Regions from separate parts of the Homo sapiens genome. Here all the other regions are linked to region 4. Evidence: promoter capture Hi-C in 16 types of primary human blood cells and fetal thymus (Javierre and others, 2016). All regions are on one chromosome and are shown on one strand. The core of a region is centred on a gene start or on the middle of the fragment in contact, and the rest is flanking DNA. Distances in the headings are between cores, read along the strand shown. Region 1 overlaps COL8A1 (collagen type VIII alpha 1 chain). Region 2 overlaps CMSS1 (cms1 ribosomal small subunit homolog). Region 3 has its middle 9.1 kb from the start of CMSS1. Region 4 holds the start of CPOX (coproporphyrinogen oxidase). Region 5 overlaps COL8A1 (collagen type VIII alpha 1 chain). Region 6 overlaps COL8A1 (collagen type VIII alpha 1 chain).

Evidence for each region. Contacts are between HindIII fragments. The CHiCAGO score rates a contact against its expected background, and 5 or more counts as called.
Region 1: a fragment that was not itself captured here is called in contact with the fragment with the promoter of CPOX in region 4 in 1 of 17 cell types (naive B cells); the score reaches 5.2 in naive B cells.
Region 2: a fragment that was not itself captured here is called in contact with the fragment with the promoter of CPOX in region 4 in 1 of 17 cell types (total CD8 T cells); the score reaches 5.8 in total CD8 T cells.
Region 3: a contact is called between a fragment that was not itself captured here and the fragment with the promoter of CPOX in region 4, in 11 of 17 cell types (naive CD4 T cells, naive B cells, naive CD8 T cells and 8 more). The highest score is 10.0, in naive CD4 T cells.
Region 5: a fragment that was not itself captured here is called in contact with the fragment with the promoter of CPOX in region 4 in 1 of 17 cell types (naive CD4 T cells); the score reaches 5.1 in naive CD4 T cells.
Region 6: a fragment that was not itself captured here is called in contact with the fragment with the promoter of CPOX in region 4 in 2 of 17 cell types (naive B cells and total B cells); the score reaches 10.2 in naive B cells.

The regions. Positions count from the first base shown.
Region 1 is chr3:99,763,320-99,766,221 of GRCh38, forward strand. The region is part of intron 2 of COL8A1 (collagen type VIII alpha 1 chain); the gene reads left to right. Among named protein-coding and RNA genes, the nearest start is that of CMSS1, 53 kb to the right of the region's middle. The HindIII fragment of the contact is 1,060 bases long and covers 852-1,911 here.
Region 2 is chr3:99,828,662-99,831,860 of GRCh38, forward strand. The region is part of intron 1 of CMSS1 (cms1 ribosomal small subunit homolog); the gene reads left to right. It overlaps FILIP1L (filamin A interacting protein 1 like), which reads right to left. Exons shown (of 6, transcript NM_001387850.1): 6 at 150-1,944. The coding sequence ends at 1,753. All of the region lies in intron 1 of LOC105374010 (a long non-coding RNA gene), which reads left to right. Among named protein-coding and RNA genes, the nearest start is that of HP09053, 6.4 kb to the left of the region's middle. The HindIII fragment of the contact is 1,612 bases long and covers 965-2,576 here.
Region 3 is chr3:99,807,359-99,810,181 of GRCh38, forward strand. No RefSeq gene overlaps it. Among named protein-coding and RNA genes, the nearest start is that of CMSS1, 9.1 kb to the right of the region's middle. The HindIII fragment of the contact is 1,074 bases long and covers 883-1,956 here.
Region 4 is chr3:98,592,053-98,595,021 of GRCh38, forward strand. CPOX (coproporphyrinogen oxidase) reads right to left here and starts at 1,559. Exons shown (of 7, transcript NM_000097.7): 1 at 897-1,559. The coding sequence starts at 1,452. RefSeq lists a silencer at 1,098-1,547 and an enhancer at 2,048-2,097. The HindIII fragment of the contact is 5,536 bases long and covers 599-2,969 here.
Region 5 is chr3:99,785,908-99,789,119 of GRCh38, forward strand. All of the region lies in intron 2 of COL8A1 (collagen type VIII alpha 1 chain), which reads left to right. Among named protein-coding and RNA genes, the nearest start is that of CMSS1, 30 kb to the right of the region's middle. The HindIII fragment of the contact is 3,668 bases long and covers 1-3,190 here.
Region 6 is chr3:99,745,915-99,748,710 of GRCh38, forward strand. The region is part of intron 2 of COL8A1 (collagen type VIII alpha 1 chain); the gene reads left to right. Among named protein-coding and RNA genes, the nearest start is that of CMSS1, 71 kb to the right of the region's middle. The HindIII fragment of the contact is 263 bases long and covers 1,120-1,382 here.

The DNA.
Region 1 (2,902 bases), core at 132-2,631, 1.2 Mb after region 4:
TCAGAGAAATGTACTCTGGGAGATGAGAGGGAAGGATGGGTTCCTTGGGTTTACATTTGTTCTAAGTAAGATAGGCTGTGCACCTCCTGCCTGTCTAAACCTCTGAATCCACTCCTGCCTCTACCAGTAATGATAACAATAATAATAACAGTTAATACCTACATCGCACTTACTTCATGCCGGACATCATTCTAAACACTTTACATGCATATACTTATTTAATCTGCATTAAAGTCCTATGAGGTCGGTATTATTATTATTATCCTCATTTTCTGGAAAAGGAAAATGAGGCACAAAAACATTTTTGGAAAAAAAAAACAAACTTTCCCTAAAGTCATGTAGGTAATAGTGTTCAGAGCTGGGGTTTTAACCCAGGCAGTGTGGCTCTACAATCCATGCACCCAGTACCATGTTCTGCTTCCTGAGGTGGTCTACCACCCAAGGACTAGCCAGCTCAGCCAATTGGTCACCATCTACTCTGCCGTGATTCCCCAAGTAACCATGCATTTGACCCCAGTAGTTGGAGGCCTCACCTAGAAAAACTGTCTCTTTGGCTGACCTGAGATTTCTTGCTTTCACCTGGGGTGATCTACCACCCAAGGACTAGCCAGCTCAGCCAATTGGTCACCATCTACTCCGCCAGGCTTCCCCAAGTAACCATGCATTTGACTCCAGTAGTTGGAGGCTTGACCTAGAAGAACTGTTTCGTTGGCTGACCCAGGATTTCTTGCTTTCTCTGTGGTAAGAACAGCCTCCTCCTCCTCAGGCCCAGTGACTATCACCCACCAGAGGCCTGGAAAACCATATCACGCCCAAATTCTCTTAACACCTAACTGAACTTTTTATATAGAAGCTTTGTGCATAAGAATTTTCTTATTTTCTTAAGGTTCACAAAACATTAGAGATTGTGCCTTATTTTTGTTTCCAATTTACAGTAGAGTTCTTTGCATGTAAGAGGTATCCAGAGATTTCTTAATAAATAAAGTCCTGCTGTATTCTTCAATAACTCTGAGTTTTAATCTGGCAGCTCAATGAATATAAAGAGCAGAACAACATTAGTATAAATTTCAAATTCAATTATGAGTTACATGAATATGAAAAGTATTTTTGTGCCCCTGTACATATATGTGTGTGCGTGTACACCACGATCTATTCAATATTCAAAGTTCCCATTCAAACAAGTAATATGTTGTTAGTAGTTAAGTGCTTAGAACCTGGAGGTAGATTCCCTGAGCTCAAATTCCAGTCCTGTTACTTACTGACTGTAGGATTTTTGACATGCTATTTAAAACCTCTGTGCCTTGAATGCCACATAGATAAGTAAGAATAATTATGGTAGTAGCTTTCAGTCAGGCAGATTTTTCTTTTTTTTCTTTTTTTTCTTTTTTTTTTTTTTTTGAGATGGAGTCTCCCTCTGTCGCCCAGGCCGGAGTGCAGTGGCGAGATCTTGGTTCATCTGCAACCTCTGCAGTCAGGCAGATTTTTCTAAGAATTAAATAAGTTAACCAATATAGGTGCTTAAATCAATTAATCAATGTAAAGTGCTTTTAACAGTGTCTGGCCAATAGTAAGTTCTCCATAAATGTTAGCTGTCATGTCAAACCATCCCATAATTCAAGTATAAATATGGTACCATTCAACACATAAAATAGTTGCATTTTTTAAGGGATTGATGAAGTTGTTAACCATACTTTCTCTTTATGGTTATTAAGAGAACAGTTATTAATAATAATAGTTAACAGAAAAAAATAACAAAGATGATACAACAAGGAATAACAGAATATAATACATGCTGCATTGGCCACCAAGTGTAGGCAATGTAACAAGTTACATTATGAAATGGCTCACAGAGACATGGTCTTGGCTATCAACATTATCAGCTGATTCACTATTCCCCTCTGTCTTAAAGGAAGCTTCACCCTTCTCAGAATAACAGGAAGCAGAGACTTCAATCTTAGCTCCAGTCTGGTAAACTGCTCAAACTCACACCAACCAACAGCAAGAGAATGAACTTCACAATCCCCAGCCAACATCCCATCCATTCAGCAAAGGGTATCTAGTAGAACAGGGAATACAATGAGAATCCACAATAATGTCGTGTTTTGTTTACACTCTACAATGAAGCCAGAGGGAATTATAGCAGGACTGCTGTATCCAAGATGTTTCAAAGTATATGCACCAGTCTAATCCTTTTTGGAGGCCAAATTCCTTCTTTTGTGATGTTAACATTTGCTGTACAAACCCTCCCAAATTCGTCCCCAGGCCTTCTTCAATGTAAAGCTTGGAACACTTCTTATTCTACATCTAGTTCTAGTTTACATCATTAGGATGTGGTATTTTCTCAATATCATTCACATAAGTCAGGGATCCCTGTAACCAGAGTAATGCTCAATTGCTCCTTTAACTCCTTTTGGTCAAATCTATGTTCTTGGCACCCAACCTAAGAATGTTAACATTTTGTGGTTACTAGATGTTTTTAATACCATTCTCTTCTCTAACACAACAGATTTATCTTCTGATGCCTTATCAAAATTACTAAAATTACATTCCAATTTCAGAAAAGTGTACTAAATACCATTCAATGCAACATAAAGTGGCTGTGACCACAGGTATTTTCTTTCTTAGGCTAATATATAGTATTTATATATCAAATGTTAGCTCAACAAACCCAGGAGATATTACTTCTTTTAAGGACAATTTTGTTCATAGATATGCCGAAGGTACCAGAGCTGGTTGGTAAAAAGAATATTAATATCCTATTGGATCCTGGAACCACAGTAATGGCAAGAATACAAAGGCTATATACTGTATATTAGTCAAGCTACCCTTTATTGAGTTTCTGCTAATTGTCAGGCATCACCATTTGTTACCAAATACGATCCCCATAGGGATTATTATTCCC
Region 2 (3,199 bases), core at 521-3,020, 1.2 Mb after region 4:
CCCAGACTGGTCTTGAGCTCCTGGCCTCAAGAAATCCTCTCACCTCAGCCTCCCAAAGTGCTGGGGTTACTGGCGTGAGCCACCATGCCCAGTCTTCACCTTCTTTTGTAGTCCATCCCCTTCTACTATTCTCTTCCTGCTTTCCTTTCACTTCGACTTTTCCATTTCAGGCTTTTAATTCACTTGACCTCCCCCTACTGCCCTCTGCCACTTGCCTGCTGGGACTGCTGCCCATCATCCCTCTCAATGCTGCCTATCATCCCTCTCAATGCTGCCCATCATCCCTCTCAATGCTGCCCATCATCCCTTTCAATGCTGCCCAGGCCTCTAGCTCCTTCTCCTCCTTGAAATTGCAGGGGCCTGGGGGTGTTTGTACAGTGGCATTAGTGCAATGAGGTGGACTTAGTTAGATAAGTATGGGGAATGGGAGTTCCTTTACTCTTGCTCTGCTGGCTCCAACCCAGGGCAGCTGGCTAAAGCAGTCCTTAACCATGAGGATTTCTTCCAGGGTCATGCTTCCAGTTTTTAGTGAAGGATCACAAAAAATGTTTAGTGTCGTTCCATTGATTTTTTTCCCCCCTCGATTGAAGCTTTTTGAAATGTTTTTTGAACTGCCTTTTGTGTCAAACATGCCTTGTCTTAAAATGTCCTGTATTACTCTGTCCACACTGAATTACAGGCACACCTTTCTCTCAATTCAATGAGAGAGTTTTCAGTGTGATGTAAAGAATTGCTTTAGCTTTCTGCCAGGGGACTGTGTCTACCCTTATAGATGACTGTTTGAATTCAACATTTTGTATTAATAGTTGGGCATATTCATAGGTTATCAGAACTGGAAGGGACCTGAGGAATTATTTCACTTTCCTGTTTTACATGTGGAAACTCAAGGCTTAGATTGATGAATGCAAAGCTCGTTGTCACATGAATGAAAATCTAGGATTGGAATTTGAGTCTCCTAACCCCAAGCTTTTGTTGAATCAACTGATTTTCGATAGTGTTTATTCAGAGAAGAGATATGAATAAACAATGTCCTGTGAGATGATAAATTCTGTATTTTTTCAAGCACCTGGAATATTGATTCATGTCTCCCTAAAATATCTCAATGTTACTGAGACTAAGTGCCAGTGGTCAGGTATGCTTACTACACCAGTGATTGTCAGGTATTCTGCACAAAGGATATATTCGGCTGTTATTCACTTTTGTTATGCTTTTCCTCCTTTAAGAATTATCACTTTGCTTTTTCCCTCCTGGTCATAAAGAAATCATAGTTTTAGACCTTAAAGTGTGATTTTAATTGTCCTGTCATCTTGATGGAAATAATCTGATTTTCTTGACTCAGATTAGGAATTTTTGCTATCACCTTTTCTTAGCAAAATATGATTAATCAGCAAAGTTCTGTAGAATGAAGAATTACTTCTGTTTTCACCAGAAAACTCTTGAACTGTTCTAGTGAATTCAGTCCTATCCCAGGCTGATTCTAGATAGTTCATCTTTGGGTTAGATTATATGTCGGATGAGGAAATGGGTAGATTTGGGTGTGGGTCTAGGCCTGCGAGTGTTTGTGTGTGCATATACACATATAGAAGTAAAATAATTGTAGACGTGCTGCTTTTTGGGGGATGATCTTCATCAGGTCCACAAAGCTGCTTCACCATTTCCTGGAGAGATGGTCCTTTGGCCTTTCATAGTGGTAATTTTAGCTTTCCACATATTTCTGTAGATGAATGTATCCAGGCAGTGCATTGGTATGAGTTACCTTCTCCCTCCCACGTGGAGGAAGGTGTTGGAGGTGACAGTTCTCACGATGTGTAGCTTCCCACAGCCATTTTGGTAAATAGGCTTATCCATAGGCACTGTGGGGGCTTTAGTGGAAATCTTGGTGATGCCTGTAGATTTCGGTTTAGGGATCCGTGCTGGGATTCTCTGCTTGCATACCTCCTTGATCTTGAATTAAACAAGAGAACAAAAGGTAATTAATGGTACAGTTGGTGGAGAAGTAGAAATTGTTTAGGACATGGAGTCAGTTTGGAGGATTTGGCTTTGAAAGCACCAGTTTCTGGGGATGTATCAGATCAAAGATCGTCAGGTTGAAGAAAAGAATGTCAGTAAAGTAATCTGGTGTGTGTTGAATGTGTGCTGTGTGCACAGTTCTTGATAGAGATAGTGGTAGATACAGAGATGAATAGATATTTGGCAATCACGGTGTAGTAGGACATATACAAGAGTAGTGTCCCAAATTAATCTCAAAGAGCCATGAGATTGCCAGAGAAAGGTTAATTTCGAATGAGATTGTCTTTAAGAGTGCTTCATGAAGAATATGGCATTTGACTTGGGCCTTCAGACTTTTAAAAGTTTTCACAGTATGAGTGAGATGGGCAGCTCCAATGATGATTAGTGGAACAGCTTGGTAGTATGTATCAAGAGCCTTATGAATCTTTTCTAGGATGTAGAGAGGCAGTCAAGGATATTTGATTTTAGCATTGTTTATAATGATGAAAAATGGACAGTTAAATGAATAGGATGTGTTAAATGAATTATAGTATAATTATGACAACATGCTTTGTTAATGAGGCCAAAGCTTCAGGAAAACGTTTACTTAGATATGTTAAAAGTAGAATTTAAAACTGTGTACATGCTTTAATTATTTACATGTGAAGAGAAAAATACTAAAAGAAAATGCACCCATGCTATTGGTTGTTAACCCTGATTAGTGGACTTACAGGTACTTTTGATTTTTCTTACATTTTCTGTGTTCTCCACATATTTTATAGTAAGTATGCTATGAGAAAAAGGAACACTAAATTGTTTTAAAAGACGAAAAAGGAAGGAAACAACTTGGAGATCAGGACATTTCTGTGAACAACCATATTATCCAAGCCATGAGCAGTAGAAGCTGCAGTTGAAGTCAGTGACAGACTAATCAAGTCTGCTAATATTGTGACTATAGCATTAATAATAGCCTTCCCAAGATGGATTTCTGTGATGTCCTGTAACTTTATCAAGATTTAGATTGGGTCTCCAATTTAGTGTTCAAAAATCTATGTTGGGATCGTCTTTAAATTGTAGATTTCTGAATCTTACTCCTATGCATTGTAATTCATTGGTTTGTGGATATGTCCAGCAATTCACATTTTTAATAAACTCTCAGAGTGATTTCTTCAACTCAGGTGGTTGGCCTACCACACTTGGAAAAGTGCTG
Region 3 (2,823 bases), core at 170-2,669, 1.2 Mb after region 4:
ATGTGGCCTATAATGCAATGGACTATTATTCAGCCTTAAAAAGGAAGAATATTTTGACACATGCTATAACATGGATGAACCTTGAGGACATTATGCCAGTCACAAAATAACAAATATTGTATGACTGTACTTATATGCAGTACCTAGAGTAGTCAAATTCATAGAGGTAGCAAGCAGAATGGTGGTTGCCAGTGGCTCGAGTGAGGGGGGTTTTTGTATAATGGGCACAGAGTTTCAGTTTTGCAAGATAAAAAGAGTTCTGAGGATGAATGGTGGTGATGGTTGCACAACAATGTGAATGTACGTAATGCCACTGAACTAAACTGTACTTAATATACTTAAAAATGGTTAAGATAATAAATTTTATATTATGTATATTTTACAATTTCAAAAAATGATGTTAAAAAGTAAAACTAAAGGGTAAACTATTTATCAATAGGAATAAACCATAGGAGGCAATTGGAAATGACTTCCAGCAGCCTCCCTTACCTCCAAGTTCACTGCACTTCTCACCAATAATGCATCAGGGGCCTAAGCAGCAACATTTTGGTGGTCCAAAAACCACAAATCCCAGCTCTCCCAGGAACACTTCTGCAGACCATTATGGAAACTGCCACTTTCTGTGCCTCCTCTACTTCAGTGGATGTTACCTTCTAGAGACCTTAAGACCTGGCTGCTGGACGCAGATGCTCTGCCTTCACCCATTAACTTCAAAGTACAAACCCAAATGACTGGATTTCCTTTTCCTCAGGCCCAAATATGCAATCTGCATGCTAATTCTCTTATTACAAAAGCAAAGTTAACAATCAGGTTTTTCTTCCCCTAAATGAGAGGATCTTTACAGAGTCCATACATACTGAAGACATAAGATTAGAAAAAGGAAGCTTTAATTCAGCCACCTGACCTCAGCAGGCCCTGTCAGGAGAAGGAAGGAAAATCCACTGCCAATCTAGGCAGGGACCAACAAAGGAATACGGTTTTGGCAGCTTGCAGGTCCCTAAGGAACAAGGTCTCCCTCTCGTGGCCATGATAGAAACAGCAGTTCAAGAAGCAGGTTTCAGTCATTTTCTTCTTACAGGAATTCTGTTATGTCAGACATTCAGAAAGGTCATAGTGGGAATGGCTAGCCTCTGCTCCATGATGTCTTGGACCACAGCTTGGGATCAATCAACAGCTGGTGACTGGAATCACCTGGGGGTATCTTTATTTATAGGTCTGGCTGTGGATGCTGTCAGCAGGGACCTTAGCTGAGCTGTGGACCAGAATAGCTACACGTGTTCTTTCCACAGGGTTTCTCTGTGTGGGCTACTTTGAGCTTTCTCAGAGTGATGCCTGGGTTCCAAGTGAGCATCCCAAGGGAGCAAGGTGGAAATGCACAGAATTTTAGGGATCTAGCCTCAGAAGTCACCGAATATCATTTCTACCATGTTCTCTTGGTTGACATGATAAAGTTCTGCCAAGGTTCAAGGAAAGGGAACACAGATCCCACCACTCAATGGGAGAACTGTCAAGGTCAGATTACAAGAAGAGTAGGTGAGATGGAGGATATTGGTGGCCATCTTTGAAAAATACAATCTACCGCATTGTCCACCTGGTTGGTCAATGCTTCACTTGTAGTGGATACTCTCTGGTGGACACACACATGTGCCACAAAGACACACACACTTTGTGCTCACTCCTTTAGGTCCCTCCACATGCCTCTTCCTCAGGTCTCTTTATTATTGAACTTCACATATTCTATCTTAGAGACCTTTCACCCAATCAACCATACCATTCACTGTTGCTCAAGGCCCTACATTTACACTGACCTCAGACTATTTTCTCCATTCAAAGGAGATGAATGCATGTACTGAAGCTCTGCCAACCAGGATTCTGTTCACCTCTGTCCTTTAAGGATCCTCCCTGAGTGGAACCGCAGTGTAGTAGCAATCCATTTTCAGTTCTACCAACATACCAAGCTTAACCAGCTTTGAGCATTTTCCAACATTATCAGCTGGTCATAGAGAATAACCCAGAGGACATAGGTGTGAGCTGAGGAACACAAAAGGCAAGGAGCTCTGAGCCATCTGTTCATGTATCTTGTGACTTTTGGACTTGCTTACATGTGCTCGCATGTATACCATTTCTGTTGTTCAGTGGATTGTTACTGTGAGCACCCAACCTTACAAGAGCCAATTCCTGAAGGGCAGTTCTGGTCATATAGTCATTTGATATTCCATAGTCAAGTGCCTGTTTCTGCTAGGACTCTACATTTTGCCCACAGCTGCTTTTCAAATGGTTTGGCTGTAGAAGGCAAAGCTGTACTAGAAAATCCTTGGAGCAGGCACCGTGATTCTCTCTTTAGGATCTGCCAGAGATTCCATCCAGCATCATTATCTATCACTCAGCACCTTTGGATCTGCCATGTCATTATGGCCTGAGTGGCAGGGCAGCTTGTGTCGTAGCCAAGACTTGCTGCTGAGCCCTCCCTTCTCTTGACCCTATTCAAAAATGGCAGCCTTTTGAGTCACCTGATAAATGAGTTAGAACACTATTTCCAAATGTGGCATAGGCTATCTGCACAAAATACTGTTTCTCTTAGGGGAAGATGAGAGATACAAAAAATTTTCCTTTACATTGAAGGGGATTCCCAGGCATGCTTCAGATCACCAAACTCCTAAAAATATAACCAACATTGCAGTTCCCTGAACATTTGTAATTTCTCTCTCACCCTTTGGCATGCATGTATTTTACTAGGGCATCCAGAATACTTGCCATTACCTGCTCTCTAGATCCAATTAACACTATGTCATCAATACAATGGATCAATGTTTTGTTTTGAGA
Region 4 (2,969 bases), core at 309-2,808:
TAGATGGGAAAACAGCCATAAAAAAGTAACTTCTGAGGATCACACAGCTGGTCTAGTACTTGAGGTTGTGTCCTGGTTCAGTGGTCTTTGCTTGAAAACATAAGATGGAAAACTAGACTGAACTTCATTTAATATAGATGTGTCAGTATCACAGCTCAAAATCTGCCGGTGAGAAGCTGCTGTTGTATTTCCAGCTAGGAAAAGTCAGGAATCTTTCAAGTTTCCACTCAAGATGTGGGGTTTCACTGTATGGGCAACAACATGGTCATGAATGTACGCCTCTACGAGAACTGGGTTTTGATGCTCAAGTATTTTGATATTGGAAGAGAAGATTTTCCTAGCAGGAAATCTGATGCGTGCATTTGGTAGTGCTACTGAGAAACGAATCAAATATATCTTGTGTAACAGTAAAAAGAAGTGGGAAGATTCTGACACAATGACATCCTGGCTGGAGGAGTTTAGCCGACACTTAGCGCACAGGAGATGAGTTCTTTCCATCTCCTAAAGAGGAAAAAGGGCAAATTCACCCAGAGAAGGAGAGAAAATGTGTTCCATAATCTATTGAAATTTATGTTCAGTAACGAACTTTGGACATCTAAGCTTGTTAGCTGCAAATACCCCTTAAGAGTTCTACAAAAAAATGCTGCTACGGAATTGCAAAGATTTTGAAATGCAGTACTACAGTGACAGCTGATCCGGGTCCATACCTGCAAGCAGAGGGCTAGTGACCCTTTCGTGTCCATCTTTTTATCAGCGGCCTCTAACCAAGCGGCCTCTCTGTGGGTACCCCCTACCTACCCCATCCCATATTGTGAACTATTATATTTTCTGTCTGCAACCTGGAACCTGACCCTTTTTCCCTGTCTCCAACTCCCGCCAGGGGCCGGCCTCCTTACCTTCCTTCCTCTCCCACCGGTCCACAGAAAAGTTGGCGCCCCCGTCTACCTGTGCCAGAGCCTGGCACACCTGGGCCTGGGTCTCCAGAATCAGCAGCTCCATCTTGGTCTTCATGTCGCCCGGCCTCCTTCGCAGCTCGCCCAGGTCGGTCACAGGCGGGGCCATGAAGCTGCTGCAGCGGTGGGCCAGCTCATCCTCCTCCTCCTCCGGCCTCCCCAGCGAAGTGGCCCGCGTCCCCGAGGTCTTAGGCAACATCTCCGCCCGCTGCACATGCCCGAAGGCGGCGGTGGCCAGCCCCACCAACCCCGCCAGCGCCGCGGCCAGCCCTGTCCCCACCCAGGGGCCGCCTCTCGACGTCGAGCCGTGCCCCAGCCCGCGGCTCTGCTCCGTGCCAGCCGGGCCAGGGGGCCGGCAGACGCGTCCGGCTGCGCTGCGCTGGGACCAGGCTCGGAGCCCTCCGCCGCCGCACTGGGACCAGGCGCGGGGCCCTCCGCAGCCGCCCCGCGCCACGAGCCAGCAGGGGCCCGAGCTCAGCCTGCCCAGCTGCAAGGCCATGTTCCCGCACTATCACCTGGAGCAGTGCCTGCGTCCCAGAGCCCTGCGTTTGAGCCCCCCACCCAGACCCCCGGAGTATTGAGCCGGCGAGCTGCACAGGCGGAAAGAACCTTTCGAGAAGAGCCGCTGCAGCGTCGGGCTCCGGAGGCGGGGGCGGGAACTGGGGCGCGCTGGGAGCTGTAGTCCGGATCCTATCGCCGCCTGCGGCGTCCCTGCGCGGGGCGGGAGATAAGAATCCGACGCGCCCAGAAGGGCTGGTCCGAAGGGAAGAGAGTGGGGCGGGGACGGTGCTGTGGAAGGGACGGGAGAGATAAAAGAGGCTTTCTTGTCACGTACAACCTCGGGTCGGCTGTTTACTCAGCCAAGGAGAGAAGATAGAGTAGGGCTGGGAGGCTGAGGGCGGACTGGGGCGGAAATGTGGCAGAGATCCCAGTCCCGCTTACATTTTCAAACAGGATTTGCGAATACAGAGCCTGGCTCAGGATCTGTATAGACCCGCCCTTCGCCCTGGGTCCTGGTCCTCTAGAGTTTTTAGAGGGGATGGGCAGGCTGGGAAACTCTTTGCTGAAGGATGGTTTTCTAAAGAGAGTGGGAGAAGCTAGTAATGGACTCGGAAGAGAGTCGAGGAGAAGACTTTCTGTGATCGAGTCCACATCACAGTTCTGTCCTTAAGATTTCCCCAGGCTGGGGCCGGGCGCGGTGGCTCAAGCCTGTAATGCTAGCATTTTGGAAAGCCGAGGCGGTTGGATCACATGAGGTCAGGAGTTCGAGACCAGCCAACATGGTGAAACCCTGTCTCTACTAAAACTACAAAAAAATAGCCGGGCGTGGCGGCGTGCACCTGTAGGCTCAGCTACTCGGGAGGCTGAGGCAGGAGAATCGCTTGAACCCGGGAGGCAGAGGTTGTAGTGAGCCGAGATCGCACCACTGCACTCCAGCCTGGGTGACAGAGTGAGACTCTGTCTCAGAAAAAAAAAAAAAAAAAAAAGGTTTCCCCAGGCCTTGCTTCTATAGTGCCTACTTGATTATTTTAGAAAAAGGAAAAGCAACGTGACTGTTTTGGTTAACCAGTAGAAAATTCCTGACTTGGTGTGTTTTGGTGATTAACAAATAAGAATTTAAAAAATAGTTATTCTACTACTGTAGGGTGCTCCCAAATATTGCTCACGTTTAATACTTACAACAACTGCTACAAACTAGGCAAGGCAAATATCCACACTTCCTCCTACTCTGTCTCCCTTCCCCCACCCTTTAAAGAAATGAGGAAAGAAGCTAATAGATTTGACAGGCAGGTCTTTGTCTCCCCTGTAACCATACCACAGCTCCATGGTTCCTGGACGTAAAAGTGTGAGAACTATTGTCATGGGCTAATTTGTCCCATAAGTCTCCGGGATGATTTTAATTTCTAGTAGTAGATAATAATTTAAGCCACTGGTAGCTTTTCCCACAAGTGTTTTCTTTGTGGCAGGATGCACTGATGGAACTTCAATGGCTTTTGAGTCAGATCAATTGGCATC
Region 5 (3,212 bases), core at 107-2,606, 1.2 Mb after region 4:
TATGGTAGGACTGAAATCTACAGAGAAATAAAAGGAAAATAATTATCTTCCAGGAAAAAAGAATATCGTAAATAAAGAATTCAAAATGAGGTCAGGCATGGATGAAGAACATACTTTTGAAATGAGTCTATATTAGTGAAAGGTACCTTCAACTAACATTGTAGTAAACAGGACTCTTTCCTTTTTTCCCCATACGTTGTCTTAAGAAAGATACATCTCTCAACCTTCACATCTCTATCCAAAATTTACTTCCTCAGATGTCATTCCCTACCGTTCTTTCCAAAACATCGGAGCTCTTCCACTCTGTCATTATTGAACCCTTTATCCTGCTGCTATACATTGAATGTTTATGTCCCCAAATTCATATGTTAAAATATGACACCCCCCTCCGAAAGTGATGGTATTAGGAGGTGGGGCCTATGGGAGATAATTAGATCATGAGTGCAAAGTCCTCATGAACAGAATTAGTGCTCATATAAAAGAGACTCCAGAGAGCTCCCTTGCCCCTTTTATCATGTAAGGATACAGCAAAATGGTGTCATCTATGAACCAGAAAGTGGGTCTTCACTAGACAACCAATCTGCTGGCACCTTGATCTTGAACTTCCCAGCCTCATGAACACTGAGAAATTGCTGTTCTTTATAAACCACTCAACCTATGGTATTTTGCTACAGCAGCCCTAATGACTAAGACACCTGCATTGCTTTTTCAAAGCACTCAAATCTCAAATTATAAAATGTATTTTTAACATTTATCACCTGTCTCTCCACACTAGACTGTGAGTTCAATAAGATAATACCTCCACTCTCTAATTCACCACTGTATCTCCAATACTCAGAACATTTCCTGTTCTGAGTGTTCAATAGGTGTTCAATAGGTATATCTAATGAATGAATTGCCCTGAGAAATGCAATCAAGAGAGAATTTTCTTTGAGAGGCATGGAAAAACCAGGAAGGCAATTCTGGTGAACACTGGAAGAGGATTCTGCCTGACTTTCCCTTGCTTTAGGGTGGCAAATCTGAGGGTCTTGAGAGACTACAAATCTTGTACAAGTAGGAGGCACAGAGGACCAGCCCAGGAACTGATTAGAGAGGCTTATACACACCACACACAACAGAGACACACATACATACACAAAGACATGCTGTGTTAGCCTATGTGAAAGGGAAAGTTGGATTCAAGGCAAGGACCAACAGATTAAATATTTAAACATTCTTCTGTATAGTAAGCCAATGAGGATAAACGTACAAATAGAATGCTGATGAGCATTTAAAATATCTATCACATTATTCTGTTAATATATGTATCACATTACTCTGTTATGTACATTACAGGTCATATGAGGAATCTGAAATTCTCTGCAGCCCTGCTCAAATATAGGAAGCCATTTAGGGCTGTTCAAAGTATCTAGGATTGGTTATTCTTGACACATGAATGAATGACTGCCTTGGTTCAGCTGTTCTTTTTCTAAATCATTTTTAACAAGTGCATTTTAATGGCCATTACTGTTTTATTCATGTTAGGTTATCATTATTGCAGTTAACCTCACATTTACTTTGCTAGTATCTTTCTTTGAAAATCTTTGACATTTTAGTTGGTTTTGATTTGTCTTTCTGGTCACACTCCATTAATAATAACTTAAATCTGAATAGTCCTTTTTGGCTTATGAAGAATTCATATTATCATTTGTACCCCTGAACAGCTCTGAGGGATGGGCAGAGATTATAATTGCTATTTTACAGGTAAGAAAACTGAGGCTTAGTGAAGATAAAGGACTTGTCCAAGGTCATAGGCATGAAGAATGGCAGAGCCAAAACTTAAATAAAAGTCTTTTGACTTCTTTGACAGTGCTTTTGTCATATGACATGACACCCATCACTAAGCCAGCCTGGCTGGCAAAGATTCAATGTTCACACACATTAGATATGCTTATGTTCAAGAACACAAATACACACACACACACACACCCACACCCACACACACACACACCAGCTGTCAAACAAATAGAAATCAAAGAAAATATTAAGGAGAACTCACAATATTATTGTGTCCCACATTCTCAGAAAGAGAGGCATGAAAACCCACTATCACAATTTCTTCCCAGCAAAAATTCCAAGGCTCCTTCTTTCTTGCCAGGTGTTTGTATAAAGTTACCCAAATTTGATGTTCTTTTGAGTGATTTGGGAGAACCCCCATACCACTTTGACCACCAAAAATATCCTCAGGGACAGGAGAAAAATTAGTAGGAATAAGTAAAGCAGTAAATTCTAACCAGGGCCCTTATATAAATATTCACGTTAAAACTGAACAAAGTTTATTTAGATAAAGAGCCAGAGAAATGGCAGAAGGCAGACCTAAAGAGCTGGTTTACAGGACAGATATGCTGAGCCTATGAGAGGAAATAATTCAACTGGTATTCTTCCAGGCATTTCATCTCCTTCCAGTTTTCCAGTATTTCATTAGATTGTCCTGGTTTAAAGATTATGAAGTATAATCCAACATATCCACTGAATTGATGGAAGGCTGAAGGGCCAAACATGCTAGCTTATTATTAAAGACTTCACCACAAGTCTGGGGTTCCATAATTAAATTCATTCATCCCCAAAAGTAGAATTAAGTACCAGCTTATACATTACCAGATATTACCACACATTTCTGGTATGGATTAACACTTTCAGATCTCTAGTAACTGTCTTACAGACATTGAATGTTAGAGCTAGAAAAGACTTAAGGGAACATCCAAGTCATATTTTAATAAATGAAGAACTTAAAGAAATTTGTTTAGATGCACATAACTAGACAAGGAATAAGTACTGATCTTTGAGTGAAAAAAGCAAAAAATAGAAGTGTGTATAGTATACTGCAATTTATGTTTGAAAGGGATGTATATGATATGTGCATATCCACAGACTATCTGAAAAATATGAGGAAAAATTGTTGCTTCAAACATAAGGGATTTTAGATACTGGAGAACAGAAGTAGGAGGAAAATTTACTTTTTACTAGATATCCTTTGCTACTCAATAACAGTTTACACATCTGTCACCCCCACTAAGAGTACAAACTCCTTGATGGTAAGGCCCACCAGCCATATTATATTCATCTTAGTAATCCAAAATGGGCCTAGCAACTGTTTCTTCATTTTTTCCAGGGAAAAAATGATTTGTTAGTGTATTTAGAAAGATTGTAAAGCTTGAATTTTGTGATAGGGA
Region 6 (2,796 bases), core at 1-2,500, 1.2 Mb after region 4:
ACTATTGCCTGGTCTTAAGTGTGACTTTTGGACACACGACTCAATATTTCCTGATATATAATAGTACAATGGTTTTTATAGTCTATTTAATTTTATTTCATAATTAAAAGAATGAATTGCTAAGATTCCCCAGATTTTTCTTGTTCTTTTTGGGACAGGGTGGACACCTGAACGAAAGGAAAAGCACAGCATTTAGCCCTATCATTAATCCCTCATTGACTGCATCCTGTCTAGAATGCATCCATTTAGAGTTCCTGGAGAAATGCAAATACATTAATGATTTTACTAAGGCATTACATTTTTAATATAGGTACCACTAATTATTTTGGCTGGATTCCATCAAAGCCAGATGTTCTCCAAATGAAATATTTATAATGCAAACCCAGGGAATAAAAAAATACATGCTCATTGAAGCAGCAGATTATAGGACTCGTGGATATTAGAAAAACTGAGGAAAGAGGCATGATGTGGGTAACAGCCATAATGTCAGAGTAAGCCTCTGAACTCAACCCAGAGAAACTTTGTAATTGTTGCAACCAGTGATAGGCTCGGCTTCTGGATTTCTTGTAACAAAATCTTACTGCCAAGGGCATTGATGAGCTCTCCCAGTAAAAAAAGTATAATAATAATGTTAAACTAAATCATAAAAATGCAGAAGGTGGTTATTAAAGGGCAGAGGAGAGAAATTGCTTGTAAAGTTCTGGTGGAAATATCAAAAATACATTTTATTGAACTTTTAAGAAATTAAGCTCTTTGTTTTTAAACTAGGGTGCAAAAGCAATAAAACTTAAAGGCCATTCAATAAACTATTTCATTCAATGGTCATCAGCAATGATTCAGCAGTAAAAATAAAAATCACATTTATTCAACATGGTCATCAATTCAGGCAGGCCTGAAGCTTACAAATGATAAGTTTGTCAGTGAAAATAACCAGCTGAAAGTATTTTTAAATGAATTTTGATTGAAAAAATAATAAAGAATTTTTTGAATGTACACCTTTTTCTTAGTGAAAATGGACTTGGTTTAACTTGACATAGTATAAAACTCTTAATGTTTTATGTAGTTTATTAAGTTCTATGAAGAAATGTATTTGAAACAAATGTAGATAATGACCAAAAAAGCTTAAATATGAACACCATGATAGGCATACAATTAAGAAAATGGAAATAGATCATGATAACTAATCTTTTGCATGCCCTCCAAAAGCACAGAATGTAACTTTTTTAATTATTTTTAATAATCTAGAGTTTTCTTTCTGATCCTTTTACCTTCCAAAAATATAGATTCCTGAATGATAGAACATAGACATTTTGGTAGACAGATTATATATTTTCCTCAAGTTAAATAACATATACCTCTAAGCAACAATCATCATAAAAACAAGCTTTTTGCTCATTAAGATACCTAATGTGCCTTACACATAGTATGTACTAAATAATATGGGTTGAACTGAATTATTCCCATTTTTTGTTCAGCTATTAATGTGTCTCTTGGATTTACACTAGAGAGGTGGTGTCCCACACATGGGAATTAATGAGCTACATCTGTAACCAAAAATATCCACGGAAAACCTGTTGAATTGATCCATATCTGTTTTATTAATCAAGCCCACTACGGAAGGGCTTTCTTGTGGTTGTACTACACTTTGGAAATAAATAGAGTGGGGAAACCACAGTTCATTTTAAAAGTTGTTTGAAACTTTGAAGAACACGGGATTTTATATTATACGACAGCAATAAACTCCAATTTTTGATGACTGTAATTCTGAGTATATAAGTATATAAATATTCTGTACATATAATTTTACTGCAGAACATTATGACTGTGGCCAAGAAGACCCTTACTGTTCAATATGGAATTTACTTGTTACTGCCACTGTCTTCCTTCCTCAATTTTTTAAAATAAAAAGACTTTTAAAAATAAAAAGAAATTTTAAAACTAGCTTGGTATGAATAGCCTTTAGCTGAAGCAGATGGCTGGAAGTCAGAAGCCCCAGATTCTATCCTTCATTCTCCTACCAACTTGGAATGTGGCCTTGGGCAAGTCATGAGAGTAAATCTACAACAAAAGAGCTAATAATGCTTTACATGTGTATGGTGTTTTATGATCTAACAGAGCACTTTCACATACAATATCTTATTTAATCTTCCCCGCAGCTTCCTGAAAAGAGTATGGCAGTTATTAACGATCCCCATTATAAAGAGGAGGAATTTGAGACCCAGTGAAACTAAATCACTTTTTCAAGTCAGGAACAGTCATAGTCTAAGATTCCCGGCTGGTCTTTGTCTTTCCTCTACACCACATTGCCACCCTCTGGCACCTCCAATGGTGGCAAAGCAGGAATGACTATAGCTGCACTGTTCAATATGATAGCCACTAACCACATTCTGGTACTGAGCATATGAAATGTGGCTAGTCCCAATTGAGATGTGCTGTGAGTGTGAAATATACACCAAATTTCTAAGACTTGGAATGAAAAACAGAATGTAAAATGTCTCATCAATACTTTATATATTGATTGCATGTTGAAATGATATTTTTAATATTTTGAGTTAAATAAAAGTAATAAGTATAAATATATTAATAAATATTACCAAATATGGTTTAATAAAATTAATTTCACCTGTTTCTTTTTACTTATTAATATGATAATAAAAAACATAAAGTTGATATTTGACTCACATTGTCCCTATGCGACAGCACTGACCAGAGGATTCCACTGTTCAGAGCCCACATACTAATTTCACAGTACTGGACTTGTTTATGTACCTGGCTTGATGTAGCTGATACAAATTC